Regions from separate parts of the Homo sapiens genome. Here all the other regions are linked to region 1. Evidence: promoter capture Hi-C in 16 types of primary human blood cells and fetal thymus (Javierre and others, 2016). All regions are on one chromosome and are shown on one strand. Each heading gives the region's core, a stretch centred on a gene start or on the middle of the fragment in contact. The rest is flanking DNA. Distances are from core to core; before and after follow the strand shown. Region 1 holds the start of ZNF284 (zinc finger protein 284). Region 2 has its middle 4.1 kb from the start of ZNF548. Region 3 holds the start of ZNF671 (zinc finger protein 671).

Region 1 (2,848 bases), core at 64-2,563:
GTTTGCCCTAAGCGATTTCCAGCTTGAGATTTCCTTAGTGATTTTGGGGGCCCAAGATATTTTCCTTTCACAATACTAAGCAGTTTAATTTCTCTTAAATGTGGCATTTCCACGTCTAAAGAATATTAATATGAAAACTTTAAAAGTGGGAAGATAGCTTTTCCAGGAGGGCAATTGGCCCTCCATATTGGCCCTTGACAGGGCAGGAGCATCGCCATCTTGGACAAACACTGCCATTTTAAAGTTCGCGTTGATCAAAAACTGCCTAAATCCAAAGGGCATCAGCCTAATGGCTAAGGTCAGCATGACCATAAACCACAAATGACATCTCCAATCAGAAACATTCCAACCATAAGATAAACCCCTCCCTGACCAGAGACATGCCAGCACCGAGATAACCTCCCTTCCATTGGAGAGATGTCAGTCCCAAGATAACTTCCCCTCCAACCAGAGATATTCCAACCCCACAACAGACTTCTCCCCAATACAGAAACATTCTAAGCCTGTGGTAAGCTCTCTCTCCCTAAAGCCAATACATACTCTTAGTCCGTAAGAGAGAGCGCTCCTGACTGCAATCGGCCAGAAGGCCCTCTCGGTTTATTCTCCAAAACGAACCTGTCTTTGACTGTTGAGCCGCTTTTCGTGTTTTTTTTTTTTTTCTCTTTAACTCTTACAGCCCTCTTAAACACTTAAACTGTGGTTGTTTTTCTTGCCAAACCAGTGGTACAACAGTGTCTGGTTGTACCAGGGGCTGGTGCCCCACTCAATGCCTCTCCCAAACCATTTTTCCTGGCCCATTATTTAAGCTCTTAGATTTAGCCTCATACTATTAGCGTCTAGTATATTAGCCTTTCAGCCATCTCCTGACCGCTCCACAGTCACTCCCCGCTAACTCCTTGAAGATTGTATCTCCTTGCTTTGTTCTCTTTCAGTAACACTCCTGTCATCATGGGAGGCGTGTAGACTTCAGGAATTCCTGTCTATTCAATATTTTCTCTCGAGGACGCAGGGAGAGGGAAGGACCACTCTCAGGGCCACAGTCCATATTCCAAACCAGGCGCTTGGGTCTATGGGATTCATTCCTCGTGGGCATTGCAGGAAGTGTAGTCAAAGAGCACCGCGGAGTCCCACGCTTCCCGCCGGAAGGTGATACTATAGAACGTCTCCTTTGAGATTCAAGGAAGTGTAGCGCAGGAGATCTGTTGAATGACGAGCAAGTAGGCTCAGGACGGCGTATCCGGGGAATTCTGGGAAATGTAGTTCACACGCTGCGCGGGGTAGGGGCACTTCCGCTCCCGGGGGGCGAGGTTGCTGCAGTGCATTCGGTGGTAGTTTGGTGTCAGTCCTGTGTCTTGTCGGTCCTTCTAAACGTGTCCCCTTACGATGCTGGCTCGCAACCACCTGGAAGTTGACTAAGGGGAGAAGGAGTCTCGTTGGAAAACGGAGGTTTGGAGGGACAACGGCCTCTCTTTTCGTTCTTGTCAGCGGAGCCTTCTTGGTCTTGGGGCTGTCCTCGCGTCCCCGGGCATGAGGCTGGGGGTTGGGACTTGGTCGGGACGCGTCTCGCCTGGTTTGAGGGTTTTTGGGGCTCTCAGCTCGCTCAGTCCGCCTCCCTCCATCCCACCTGTGAGGCTACTTTCTCACAATTTAGGGTTGGGATGTTATTAATCTCCCTGTACCTCCCACTGCTGTTCTTTAAAATGGGGACTTTAGGACCATCCTAATGAAATCGTTTTGGGAACTGGAAGAGGTAACACAAATGAAAGCCTTAAAGCAGCCCCTCCCTTAGTGACTGGTGGTCTCTTCTTAGTGTTTATTTCCCACGAAGCCTGTCAGGTCCCCGGGTGGGGTCAGAGCTCCATCTGCAGGGATCCCCGCCCTTGTCTCTGATTCCTGCAGGACGCTGGGTGATCCCGGACGCTTCTGACCTCTTTTTAGGAAGGCGAGGGTTGTTTCCATTTCCACGAAGGGAGAGGAACATTTAACTTTTATGCCGGACGGCAATGCGGTCAGGGTGTTTCACAGCTTTCTCCTTCCCCAGCCTGATTCTCAAAAAGAGCTGCAGGGAGGGACTTCTTGGCTACTGAGGGCAAAGTTCCACGAGAGTGGTCCTTGGCTTTTTTTCTTTTACAGAGATGCTCACCCCGACCAAGAGTGTAGGATGTGTCCTCAGGCATGGGTGTTGATAATAATTAAGCCTCAATTGGTAACTTTATCCCAAGAGCTTTATACAAGTAGTCACATTTTCGCCACACCGTGGCTCTGTGGAGAGGTACTACTTTTTTCAGTTTTAAAGATGAGTGAGATACAAAGGAGCAGGAGTTATCTGAGAATAGTCACCTAAGCAGTAAGAGGTGGAGCTGCGGTTGAAACCTGGGCGTTACAGGTCAGAGCCTTAGTTGATAATCTTTTGGATACATTCTCATTGAGGCAGAGGAACTAGCTGGAATCTAGTGGGGAAAGCAAGCTAGGACTTGATTGAAGGGAGCCTTGAGAGCAAGGCTTATGGGCTTGGACTGTTCTGGGAGTTTATCAACTATTTCATTCATTAGAACTATTTCATTTATTACAAATATTTCACTTGTTATGCAGCGGTATGATTGTGGAGCGTTCAGAAATTGGAGAAATACGAGTAGTACAAGTTTATAATTACCCATGAATCCAGCATGTAAAGATAGTAACTGTTAAACTTCGAGTGCATTTTTTTTTTTTTTTTGAGACAGAGTCTCACTGTGTTGCCCAGGCTGGAGTGCAGTGGCACGATCTCGGCTCACTGCTAACTCCGCCTCCCAGGTTCACGCCATTCTCCTGCCTCAGCCTCCTGTGTGAGTAGCTGGGACCACAGGCG
Region 2 (3,171 bases), core at 53-2,552, about 13 Mb after region 1:
GAATTGCTTTAACCCGGGAAGAGGGGGTTGCAGTGGGCTGAGATCATGCCATTGCACTCCAGCCTGGGCGACAGGGCAAAAAAAAAAATTAGCCGGGCATGGTGGCGGGCGCCTATAATCTCAGCTATTCAGGAGGCTGAGGCAGAAGAATCGCTTGAAGCCGGGAGGCAGAGGTTGCAGTGAGCTGAGATCGCGCCAATGCACTCCAGCCTGGGTGACAGAGCAAGATTCTGTCTCAAAAAAAAAAAAAGAAAAAAAGAAAAAAGAAGAAGGGTAGCAGAAATTCTGTGAATGAGTTACTAGGTTCAAAAATGAGGATGCTCAATATAATGCATAGGTTCAGAAAAAAATTACGATGAAAAGAATTGTCAAATTTTGTAACTGATACTTGACCTGGTTAAATTTGAATTATTTCTAATTCCCTATGTATATGTGCAGTGAGATAAAAGATAAATATTGTATGTGACATACTCATCATAAAATTATTTGTTGTTTATCTGAAATACATTCTAAATCAGGGGTCCCCAACCCCTGGGGCCACAGATGAGTACTATGGCCTGTTAGGAATGGGGCCATATAGCAGAGGGTGAGTGGCAGATGAGTGAGCATTGCTGCCTGATCTCCGCCTCCTGTCAGATCGGCAGCAGCATTAGATTCTCATAGGGGTGCAAACCCTACTGTGAACTGCACAAGAGAGGGATCTAGGTTGTATGCTCCTTATGAGAATCTAATGCCTCTGAAACCATCTGCCCCCAAACCCCTCTCCCTTATCCATGGAAAAATTGTCTTCCACAAAACCGGTCCCTGGTACTAAAAAGCTTGGGGATCACAGTTCTAATGACATAACTCTTTCCCTGATAATTTGCTTCTACTTAACAATTCCTTGTTTTATATAATTTGCTTACAGAATTCCTGCAGTTACAGTCTTGATGCCATTTATGTTGTGACAAACCTTCGTCATTTGTCATATTCAACTTATTTCATTCCTTTATCTATTGGACATTCATTAATGAGAAACACACTCAACAGTAGCATTCTGAGCCTAAAGACTCATGATGATAAACAGTGTAGAAAACATTACAAACTCTATTATAATTATTCTACCATCTCCATCTGATTTTAACAAAAAAGTTATTTTGTCTCTTTCTTTGGAACTAGTTGAGAAAATCATGCACCTTCCAAAGTTAATATATATTTGACTGTCCACCATTTTCATTAGTCAATGGGCAATTACATAGAGTCGAAGACCTTCAAAGGGAATTTTAAATACTCCTCAGTTCATCATAAATTATAAACTTGCATTTTGACATTTTTTGCATTCAATATACTCAAAATATAGACAATAGCAACTTCTACAAGAGTTGAAAAACATTGTGGGTACAGTGGCTCATGCCTGTAATCGCAGCACTTTGGGAGGCCTAGGCGGACAGATCACTTGAGGTCAGGAGTTCGAGACCAGTATGGCCAACATGGCGAAACCCCATCTCTAATAGAAATACAAAAAATTAGCCAGGCATGGTGCCACGCGCCTGTAATCCCAGCTACTTGGGAGGCTGAGGCATGAGAATCACTTGAACCTGGGAGCCAGAGGTTGCAGTGAGCCGAGATTGCGCCACTGCACTCCAGCTGGGTGACAGAGTGAAACTGTATCTTAAAAAAAAAAAAGAAAAGAAAGAAAAAAGAAAACACTGGAGAAAACGTTGGATTTTACAATGTATGTCTGGGTCAGTTAGTCTACCATTTCATATCCAAACTCATAACTAATTACAAACAGATGGAACCATTGAAAGCTTGCAAACTTTTAAATTATATTCATATAATTAAAATATAAGTAATAATTTATATTCAATTAAGAATAAATGGGGCCAGGCGTGGTGGCTCATGCCTGTAATCCCAGCACTTTGGGAGGCCGAGGCAGGCGGATCATGAGGTCAAGAGATCGAGACCATCCTGGCCAACATGGTGAAATCCCGTCTCTACTAAAAATACAAAAAAATTAACTGGGCGTGGTGGCGTGCATATGTAGTTCCAGCTACTTGAGAGTCTGAGGCAGGAGAATCACTTGAACCGGAGAGGCGGAGGTTGCAGTGAGCCGAGATCACACCACTGCACTCCAGCCCAGCGACAGAGTGAGACTCCGTCTCAAAAAAAAAAAAAAGAATAAATAGATTTTGATATCTCAAGGGAAAAAAAGTGATATTCCTATTTGTCTGCAGGGCAGAGCTGTAGTGGTCAGGCAGTCTCCTCAAACAAAGCCAAAACTGCTATTATATGAGCTTTTAGGAAGGCTGGCCTTCAGGGACTGAGGACTTTCAGAAGCAGCAGAGTTGAAAGACTGATGGACTTTCAGGTATGTTAGTGTAAATGCAACCATTTACCAACTGGCTTTCATAAACAGGATTACTGACAGGAGGCACTTGTGGATTAGTTGTTGCCAGCAGCCTGGGGCTGCCACTGATTGACCATCTTTAGTACTGGGCCTTACCCCCATTGGAAAAATTTTAGAATCTTGGCCTAACAATGATTTGCTAAGTTTCTGGTTAATTACTGGGGTGAAGCTTTTGCTGACTAGCTGACTTTTAAAGCATAGGTACACATCCCAAGTTATCTCTAATTAATGGTGGTTTCTTGTTTATGATTATGGATTTGGGGCAGAGATAAATTTTTTCCTTACTTGAACATAAGCCAGCAACTTAATTCTCATTCCCCATTTTTGGTTTCCCAACAGCCAGAATTTGTAAGAAATCATATGCTATGGTTTGGATGTTTGTCTCTTCCAAAGCTCATGTTGAAATTTAATTTCCAATGTTTGAGGTGGGGCCTAATAGGAGGTGTTCTGGTCATGAGGGTAGATCCTACCTGAATACCCCCACTTGAAGATGTGTAAATTCTCACTCTATTAGTTCCCAAGAAAGCTGGTTGTTGAAAAGAGCCTGATACACTCCCCACCCACTGTCCTCCTCTCTTGCAATATGATTCCTTCGCATTATAGCTCTCTTTCGTTTTCCACCATGAATAGAACCCGCCGAAGACCCTCACCAGATGCAGATGCCCAATTTTAAACTTTCCACACATCAACATTTTGAGCCAAATAAACATTTTTTTCTTTATAAATTACCAGCTTCAGGTATTCATTTATAGCAACGCTAACTGGACTAAGACATCATAAGT
Region 3 (2,995 bases), core at 488-2,987, about 14 Mb after region 1:
TCGCACCATTGCACTCCAGCCTGGGTGACAGAGCGAGACTCGTCTCCAAAAAAAAAATAAATAAATAAAATAAAACCAAAGCCAAGTGCAGTGGCTCACAACTGTAATCCAAACACTTTGGAAGGCTGGGGCCGGTGGATCAGTTGAGGTCGGGAGTTCAAGACCACCTGGGCCAACACGGTGAACGTCCCCCCCACTCCCCCGCCCCCACCCCACCCCTCCCACCTCCCCACCCCACCCCACCCCTCCCACCTCCCCACCCCCGTCTCTACTATAAATACTAAAATTAGCCAGGGGTGGTTGTGGGCACCTGTAATCTCAACTACTTGGGAGGCTGAGGCGGGAGAATCTCTTGAACCCGGGAGGTAGAGGTTGCAATAAGCCACTGCATCCCACCCTGGGCGACAGAGTGAGACTTCGTCTCAAAAAAAATAAAAAAAATAAATAAACTAAAACTAAAAGAAAACACACAAAATGAGGGTGAGATAATCAGATAGTAGCAATAGCACACCACCCATCGTTGCCATCCCAGGCCAAACTCCTCATACCCTACAGCTCTCTCCTCCTGCAAACACTGAAAAGAACCCTTTCAAATGGCAGGACCCTTCTCTTCTGGGGGGAGTCTCAAGAATGCCCACTCCCTCTTCCCTGCCCTGCAGTCCCAGCCTTCTCATCTCTTACCCCAGAGATATGAAATAACATACTTAAGACTGCCCCACTTAAATCTGACCTCCTGGCCTTGACCTACTCCAGACCGCTCCCTTCACCCCAAAGATATTCTAAGCCCAGCCCCTTCCCCACAACTTCAGACCTTCCTCTCTAGTTGCCTAAGTGAGGAAGCCTCCACTCTGAGACATCTCAAAGTCACCATTCCAAAATCCAAACGTTCATGGAAAAACAACAAAAACACCTTGCTCTTTCATGCCTTACTTTCAGTCATAGCTGCATATGATGGAGCAGAAAATCCTGTTGGTTTCAAATTTAAAACCTACCCAGAATATGATCACTTCTACCCACTCACCTGCCATTACTCTTGGTACATCCACCACCAAAGCATTCCTGGAATCCACTGCAGTAGCCTCCTTACCGGTCTCCTCGTATCCATCCTCGCAGTCCCCACCCCAAACTAATGTTCTCCCCTGAGCAAATTTCGAGACACTTAAAATCCCAGCTAAGATCACGTCCTTCTATTCAAAACCCTCAGTTAATCTCAACGCCCTCAGAATGAAGCGACAACTTCTCAGCCTGCCATTCCAGTCACAGTTCCTCAAACTCTGCTCTGTGTTGATGAGAACCCTGTCTCCCAAATGTTTGGGGGTCAGCAGCACCCCCGAGCCTTTACCTGCGCCGTCCCCTCCGCCCGTAACTCTCCCACACCCACCCACACCGAGATAGGACCCCGCCCCAAGAGTGCGTCGCTGTCCTGGGACACAGGGGCTGCAGGCACTTTACGATTCGGAGTCGGAGAAAGGGTGACTGAGGGCCCGGAGGACGCAGCACCCACCCGCGCGGAGTCCGTTAGCTCCGCCATAGGACCGTGGGCGCGGACAGCTGCCGGGAGCGGCAGGCGTCTCGATCGGGGACGCAGGCACTTCCGTCCCTGCAGAGCATCAGACGCGTCTCGGGACACTGGGGACAACATCTCCTCCGCGCTTTCCCAACACCTCCACCTGCGGCCCACACAAGCGTTACAGAACCCCGGCCAGGGACAGCCTGACAGAAACAAAATGTCCGCTACAAGGAGGAGCCGGAAGTCCCGCCCACGCACCCCCCGCAGGCACTGAAACACCCCTCTCCTGGGCCCTCATTGGGTATGCAACGTATAGGTTTGTGGGTAGAGTGTGGTTCCCACTGAGCTATCCTTCAAGGCAGGGGATTCTCGGCCTGGGCTCTTGGGAAAACTCGAAGTAGGAGGGCCAAGTTGTTTGGGAAAAGTAACCCGAGTTTCAAAGGGCTGACAGGACTTCCGTCCTCTTTTTTTTTTTTTTTTTTTTTTTTGAGACAGAGTCTCGCTCTGTCTCCCAGGCTGCAGTGCAGTGGCGCGATCTCGGCTGACTGCAACCTCCGCCTCCCGGGTTCAAGCGATTCTCCTGCCTCAGCCTCCCAAGTAATTGGGACTACAGGGGCCCGCCACCACGCCAGGCTAATTTTAGTACTTTTAGCAGAGTACGGGATTTCACCATGTTGGCCAGGCTGGTCTCGAACTCCTGACTTTGTGATTTGCCTGCTTCGGCCTCCCAAAGTGCTGGGATTACAGGAGTGAGCCATGGTGCCCGGCTGACTTCTGTCCTCTTAAAAGGCCTGGACCTAGATTCCCTGGAGTGTAGTATGCACCGATCGCAGAAATGTTGAGACATTTCAGATGTTCCCCAAAGCTGCAAAACTAAATAGATACACCACACCACAATGTCTCTTTGCGTACACTCACAGCTAGAAGCTAATAACTATTACCTTGTTGCTTTTTAAATATGTGTGCACTCAAGCTTTACAGTAACTTTTGTGAGCTTCAGTTTGGTCAGAGACGGAAGAGAAAATATTCCAAACAAGGCCTTGGAGTGGAAGAAGGAAGAGGGATGATGTGGAGTCTCCCTGAAACCAGTGGACAGATTTCTTCAGAAAACTCTTCCTGCCTGGGTAATCAGTGATGTCTCCATCACAGCAAAACACAGTGCAATTACCATTTAACCTGTCATTGTCATTGTAAGTATGGTGTCTGTGTTAGGAGGTGAGATTATCCCCGGGGGAAAAATCCTGACAGCTATTAATAATGATTCCGTAGTTATTTGAAGATAATGAAAGAAATTGCTCTAAGGAAATATCTGTGATAGATGGACAAAGTTAAGATCTCAGTAAAGTTTGAGCCTGAATACTAAAGTATAAGTGAAAGAATGAAGTTAAGCATATGGTTGTGTTGTGATCTTGACCACACTTTGTCAACAAAATGTGACTCTTTTTTCCTGAAAATGCTGAGCAATTGTAAAGAAGATATCAGAAT

What was found. Contacts are between HindIII fragments. The CHiCAGO score rates a contact against its expected background, and 5 or more counts as called.
Region 2: a fragment that was not itself captured here is called in contact with the fragment with the promoter of ZNF284 in region 1 in 1 of 17 cell types (total CD4 T cells); the score reaches 8.5 in total CD4 T cells.
Region 3: a contact is called between the fragment with the promoter of ZNF671 here and the fragment with the promoter of ZNF284 in region 1, in 1 of 17 cell types (non-activated CD4 T cells). The highest score is 5.6, in non-activated CD4 T cells.

The regions. Positions count from the first base shown.
Region 1 is chr19:44,070,846-44,073,693 of GRCh38, forward strand. ZNF284 (zinc finger protein 284) reads left to right here and starts at 1,314. Exons shown (of 5, transcript NM_001037813.4): 1 at 1,314-1,446. The HindIII fragment of the contact is 12,821 bases long and covers 1-2,848 here.
Region 2 is chr19:57,384,127-57,387,297 of GRCh38, forward strand. No RefSeq gene overlaps it. Among named protein-coding and RNA genes, the nearest start is that of ZNF548, 4.1 kb to the right of the region's middle. The HindIII fragment of the contact is 972 bases long and covers 817-1,788 here.
Region 3 is chr19:57,725,887-57,728,881 of GRCh38, forward strand. ZNF671 (zinc finger protein 671) reads right to left here and starts at 1,738. Exons shown (of 4, transcript NM_024833.3): 1 at 1,505-1,738. The coding sequence starts at 1,642. RefSeq lists enhancers at 1,437-1,937, 1,455-1,894, 2,035-2,084 and a silencer at 1,891-2,116. The HindIII fragment of the contact is 7,103 bases long and covers 1-2,481 here.